2 separate regions of the Homo sapiens genome follow, and region 2 is linked to region 1. The links are contacts of gene promoters, found by promoter capture Hi-C in human tissues and cell types (Jung and others, 2019). All regions are on one chromosome and are shown on one strand. Each heading gives the region's core, a stretch centred on a gene start or on the middle of the fragment in contact. The rest is flanking DNA. Distances are from core to core; before and after follow the strand shown. Region 1 holds the start of TMEM42 (transmembrane protein 42). Region 2 overlaps ZNF445 (zinc finger protein 445).

The links. Contacts are between HindIII fragments. The study calls those that stand out against the background at their distance.
Region 2: a contact is called between a fragment that was not itself captured here and the fragment with the promoter of TMEM42 in region 1, in 1 of the 25 tissues and cell types used here (dorsolateral prefrontal cortex).

Annotation. Positions count from the first base shown.
Region 1 is chr3:44,860,181-44,863,426 of GRCh38, forward strand. It overlaps TMEM42 (transmembrane protein 42), which reads left to right and starts at 1,732. Exons shown (of 3, transcript NM_144638.3): 1 at 1,732-1,936. The coding sequence starts at 1,745. MIR564 (microRNA 564) reads left to right here and starts at 1,708; the gene lies at 1,708-1,801. It also overlaps a transcript of KIF15 not described here. RefSeq lists an enhancer at 1,192-1,781 and silencers at 1,812-1,861, 2,192-2,241. The HindIII fragment of the contact is 28,079 bases long and covers 1-3,246 here.
Region 2 is chr3:44,463,270-44,466,515 of GRCh38, forward strand. All of the region lies in intron 1 of ZNF445 (zinc finger protein 445), which reads right to left. Among named protein-coding and RNA genes, the nearest start is that of ZNF445, 13 kb to the right of the region's middle. The HindIII fragment of the contact is 4,634 bases long and covers 1-3,246 here.

The DNA.
Region 1 (3,246 bases), core at 482-2,981:
ATTTGCTTTACATTCTTTAAAGCATGCAGAGTTGATCAATGCAACACCTCTTGATTTCCTGATAAGAGCTTTCAGAGGGTATCATCTTTGAGCAGCTCCTTACTCAATGGAGTGGTGCAGTGAGACCTCTGAGCCTCAATTTCCTCATCTGCAAAATGGGACAGTTTGTACCATATTGGCGTTACTGAAATTATCCGTGTTTTTTTTTGAGACAGAGCCTTACTCTGTCACCCAGGCTGGAGGGCAGTGGTGCAATTTCGGCTCACTGCAACCTCTGCCTCCTGGGTTCAAACAATTCTCTGCCTCAGCTTCCCAAGTAGCTGGGAATACAGGTGCCCGCCACCACACCCAGCTAATTTTTTTTGTATTTTTAGTAGAGATGGAGTTTCACCATCTTGACCAATCTGGTCTTGAACTCCTGACCTCGTAATCCACCCACCTTTGGCCTCCCAAAGTGCTGGGATTACAGGCGTGAGCCACCGTGCCTGGCCTTATCCGTGCTTTTATTTGAGCCACAAAACCACCCTGTGAGAGAAGCAGCATGGTGTGGAAGGACTTCCATAAAAACTTGCTAAACAGAAGATACAAAAAGAATGCTGCTAAACAGTATGTTCAACTGTGAAATCATTTTTGTTTAAAAAATGCATATACATATTCTATAATTTTTTTAACATTTTAACTATATATAACTAAATAGACATATAGAAAAATGCTCTATTAACACTGATTTTCCTGGAGAGTGGAAATAGCACTTTATACATTTCAACACTTTATTTTCAAGGACGTGTACTTTTTAAATGGGAACATTTTATTTTTATTTTTATTTTTTGAGACGGAGTTCACTCTTGTTGGCCAGGCTGGAGTGCAATGGCATGATCTCAGCTCACCACAACCTTCACCTCCCAGGTTCAAGCGCTTCTCCTGCCTCGGCCTCCCGAGTAGCTGGGATTACAGGCATGCACCACCACGCCCGGCTAATTTTGTATTTTTAGTAGAGACGGGGTTTCTCTATGTTGGTCAGGCTGGTCTCGAACTCCCGACCTCAGGTGATCCACCCGCCTCGGCCTCCCAAAGTGCTGGGATTACAGGCATGAGCCACCACGCCCAGCCGGAAACATTCTAAACATACGTAAGTATAACAGGAGATTAGAAGTCATGTTGATTCTGCGTGGCTTGATTATGGATCATTGTCTTCCTCTCATCGCAGATCCTCATTTTTTCGGTTTTCTGTGATGCGCTTGTCCCCATATGGGGCTCTGGCGTCTTTCTGGGTCTGGAGGTCCCCAGCGCCCTCTGCCGAGGCATCTCTTGGTCCGGCGGTCCTCAGGCTGGAGGGTGGAGCGGAGAAGCCTGGTCGACGTGGATGGACTCGGTGGGCCGGCGCGGGGCCCGTTAGGCATCTTTAATAAGTTTCACCGGGAGCCGGGTGGCCGGGATGGAGACGGCTAAGCCGCGAGAAGTTTACCTTCTACCACAGCGTCCACAGTACCCGGCTTGGCCTCAGGCCTCGGGTCCCGACGTCCTCCCCAGAGCACAAACCTACTACAGGTTAGGCCGGAGGCCGCCACAGCCCAGGGTCTCTGCCACCTGGCCCGCCCCCTCCGAGGCGCCGGAGAGCGATTCCCAAGGGGCCTGCCGGAGCGTGGCGTCACAGGAGCGTCGCGTCACGTGAGGCTGCCATCCAATCGCGGCGCGCGCTCTGCCCTGCGGGCAGCGGGTGCCAGGCACGGTGTCAGCAGGCAACATGGCCGAGAGGCCGGGGCCTCCGGGCGGCGCCGTGTCCGCGACCGCGTACCCTGACACCCCCGCGGAATTCCCTCCGCACCTCCAGGCGGGTGCGATGCGGCGCCGCTTTTGGGGCGTATTCAACTGTCTGTGCGCCGGCGCGTTCGGGGCCCTGGCCGCCGCCTCCGCCAAGCTGGCCTTCGGCAGCGAGGTCGAGCCCGGGGCGCTGTTGGTGCTGCTGCTGCGGGCGGGCGGGCGGGGCGCCGCTGGGCGGAGGAGGGGCGCTGCGGGGCCCGCGGGGCTCTTGGGGTGGGGCGGGGGTGGGCGCAGGGCGCCGCCGCACCCTCGCCGGTCTGTCCCGCCGGGGCCCCGGGCCGCGGGCGGCGCTGCGGTCAGCTGGGGTGGCAGAGAGTGTTTCGCCTCTAATCACGCCAAACCCTCGTCCAGTGTAGGTGGTAAGAGACGTCGGGGACTGAGGCCTCTTCCCTTACCAGGGACCTAAAACCTTTTCTCCGGTTGGGCTAGTTCGCTCTCGGGGAAGAACTACACCTCCTACATCCACCCTCTACCTCTCATTTTAAGTCCCTTGTGCCTGAGCATTTCTCTCCACGTGACTCTTAAGGTGAGAAGCCTCTTGCCCATCCCTTTACTCCGTAATTAACGGGTGTTGTGACCAGATGACCAGTCTGCCCCACTACCAGGAAAATTGGGAGTTTGGGATACTGTAGGCATAAGAGGATACTGACAGAGACGTTCTGGATGTTTTCCTGACGCTGAGAACTCCTAAACTTGCATCCTGGCGTCTGCTAAGGTGTATCTCTGCCTCTCCCTCCCACGTCGTAGACCAGCCTCTGCTTGCTATAGGGGTTTCATTGCGTCTGCAGCCCAAGGTTAGCCTCTGACCTGGACAGTGGTCACTGATTATTTAGGGTTAAGCCTATTTAGGGCTAATCCAGTAGTAGCTGCCATGCTTCAGGTTAGTATCCCATTGGGTGTAGTTCATGGGGTAAGTGGTCGAAAGTAAAATGAATAACTTTGTATGGGCCGTGAAGTTTGTTGTCAGGAACTAGACCTTCATAACCCTTTAAGCAGGTTGCCACTGGCCCATATGCTGCTTTGTGTAAGACAAGGTTGTCCAACTCGCGGCCCAACGCAAATTTGCAAATTTAAAACATGAATTTTTTTGCGATTTATTATTTTTTTTTTAGCTCATCATATATCATTAGTGTTAGTGTATTATATGTGTGACCCAAGACAGTTCTTCCAGTGTGGCCCAGGGAAGCCAAAAAATTGAACACCCTGGTGTAAGTTATAAGCAAGCACCTTTTTCTCAAGACACTATGTGTTCAGCTGCTGAGAAACCATTACAAGTAATAAGTATATTTAGATTCCGCACCCCCCCCCCCCGCCGCCTTGTCTCCAGGCAGGTTTCTAACTCACCACCAAGCAAGGGGGACTGCATATCCTTTGTGTAGGAGGCTTCTAAAGATCTTCTCTTCTCTTGAGACTTTCTCCTTTAAA
Region 2 (3,246 bases), core at 450-2,949, 400 kb before region 1:
AGGTGATCTGCCTGACTCAGCCTCCCAAAGTGCTGGGATTACAGGTGTGAGCCACTGAGCCCAGCCTGTCTTGCCACTCTTAATGCACAGATGAGAGGCCCTAAGATAACTTCTGGTAGCCTGGGACTCATTGGGAAAAACAGAGGAGGCACCACAGACCCCGTTTTGGGGGAAACAAACAAACAAACCACCTCTGTTTTCCTCATGAAACCACAGGAATTAAAAACTGATAGATCCCTTTCAAAATCAAACGCTCTGTTCTGTTTTGCGTTGTGTTATCTGATGGTTTTGAGTTTTGGGGTATCAGAAATTACTTCGCATTATGAGAGAGCTTTGGTGTGTAATAACTAAGTAGGAAATATACTTTAAGGGATGGCTAAGAGTAGTTATGGAGGGATACTTGACTCTGCACACTTGGATCAGAAAAGCATGCTCTTGGCCACCTGGAAGATAAGGAAACATCCCCACCCAGAACTGGGAGATGAGACTCCCACAAGAGATGGGCTGATTACAAAATGGGATAATTGGGTTTGGGTTGCCTTGCAATGAAATGCAGCGTAGAAGCACTGCACTGTCGACTGGTCATGGTAGCTCATGCCTGTAAGCCCAGCACTTTGGGAGGCTGAGGTGGGCGATCACTTGAGGTCAGGAGTTCAAGACCAGCCTGGCCAATACGGTGAAACCTCGTCTCTACTAAAATGCAGAAATTAGCCAGGCGTAGTGGTGCGTGCCTGTAGTCGCAGCTACTTGGAAGGCTTAGGCAGGACAATCGCTTGAACCTGGGAAGTGGAGGTTGCAGTGAGCTGACATCGTACCATTGCACTGCAGCTTGGATGTCGCAGTGAGACTCCATCTCAAAAAACAAACAAACAAACAAAAAAAACAGCAGCAGCAGCACTGCACTGTCTTCTCCTGTAGTATTTCCCTTATTTTGGGGATCCAGGATCCAGTATAAAAAGGCACCCTTAATTTTGGGGATCTGTCTTTGCCTTCAGCTGCTTATTTGCTGCTTATGTGGCCCTAGAAATACATGCTTTCCTGGCCCTGTTCCTCCAAGGGCTCAATTCTGAAGCCAGTAATCCAATAAAGAAACTGGCAAATGAAAAATCTTACAAGGGCTGAATCTTCTGTGTATTTCTATATGTTGTATGTTTATATACAAAAGAGCTCTGATTGGCTTAGGAAAGTAAACGTTTAAATCAAATATTTTGTCAGAAAAATAGAAACTTTTAATGCCTTTTCGTTCACGTGGCTTTAGTATTCTTTTAGAAGACAGTTTTAAAGACTGATAAAATAAAATGTCTTGAAAATGGAAACATTTGGTCTAAATTAAGATATCAGATTTGCCAAATGCTTTAAGGTCAAATTGTTTCTTTGACTTCTGAGAATTGTTCAATTTACCTATTTTGGAGCATTAGATTACAGATAAGGCCTTGGGACATATGGAGAGCCATGCCCGTTGGCTATGCTAAAAAGAGTCAGACCTTATCATCATTTCTGTCTGATATCCTAGGCTCCACCCCAAGCTGGGCACAGTGGCTCACGGCTGTAATACCAGCACTTTGGGAGGCCGAGGTGGGCAGATCACGATGTCAGGAGTTCCAGACCAGCCTGGCCAGCATGGTGAAACCCCGTCTCTTACTAAAAATTAGCTGAGCATGGTGGCATGCGCCTGTAGTCCCAGCTACTCGGTAGGCTGAGGCAGCAGAATTGCTTGAACCCGGCAGGCGGAGGTTGCAGTGAGCCAAGATCACACCACTGCATTCCAGCCTGGGCGACAGAGTGAGACTCCGCCTAAAAAAAAAAAAAAAAAAAAAAATCGCTTACTTATCAGGTTTTTCACTAAAAATAAAATTTGCTAAGAGCTAACATTGTAACATTTAATTGAGACCACTGGAGAAATAGTTTTACATACAAGGTGTGTAGGAAATGTGTTTTTGTTAAAAGATTATAAGAAGGCATGGGAATATGGCTTTTGTTAAAGGGAATGTAATTTTGTCTATTTCAGAAGGTTTTAAGGATTGTCTTAACCTAAAAGAGGAATGGAACAAAACTGAAGGTTTAAGCAAAGTCAAAAGGGTTTGTAAAGGGTTGATCTTGTAAAAATTATGTGGGTGTAAACAAGTTGGCTAAGATTTAAAAGAAATTATTTAGTTTTCCACAGGTTAAAAAATTAAAATGATACTGATGTGGGGCCAAAATCTGGGCCCAAGTGTCCGAATAACAGGGTTTTCTTAGAAAACTGATCTGCTGTTTGATGGAAAATTGTAAAGGGGTCTAAAAAGTTTATGAAAATCTTACCTTATGGTTAAACTAACTACTGGATAGAGATATAAACTTTTATTTAAAAAACTAGCTTTAGGCTGGGAGTGGTGGCTCACACCTGTAATCCTAGCACTTTGGGAGGCTGAGGCAGGAGGATTACCTGAGGTTGGTAGTTCAAGGCCAGCCTGGCCAACATGGTGAAACCCCATCTCTACTAAAAATACAAAAAATTAGCCGGGTGCAATGGCACGCGCCTGTAATCCCAACTACTCTGGAGGCTGAGGCAAGCAAATCGCTTGAACCTGGGAGGCGGAGGTTGCAGTGAGTCGAGATCATGCCATGGCACTCCAGACTGGGCTACAGAGTAAGACTTCGTCTCAAAAAAAAACCAAAAAACAAAACAAACAAACAAACAAACTAGCTTTAACATTAAAGATGCATTAATGCAAACATGAAATTTGGTTTTCTCTTTTGAAGATGATTTTTAATTAATGTTAAAAGATAATAAAAGGGTCTTGTTTTCTCCTTTGGGTAAATGGCAGGGAAAAAATGGAGAGAAGAGAGATTCAGTTGGCCTCAAGCTATCTTCACTGGGTCTTCTTTGGAAAGCTAAGTCTCCTCTATCAGAGTAAAGGTTTTTCTTTTTTAAAAAAAATTTTTTTTGGAGTTATCATTTTGGCCAAAGAATGATTTATGGTGACCTGGGATTCTATTTTGTGATATCCAGTGTTTTAAACCTTTGCTACTTGACAAACTTTCCAAAATCAAATTATAAATTATGTCTCTTTCTAACCTAATATTTTAGATATTAGGTCCTCTAAAGTCCAAAAATGACATTTGGCTTATTTGGTGCAAAAATCATACAGGAAGCATTGTCAAATATGAAATGGTGTTTGGCTTTCTTTGGTCTACATTTGTGTAAATGTGTTATTAGTATATGTTATGAAATTATGTAAAACCCTTATAATTCTAATATGACTC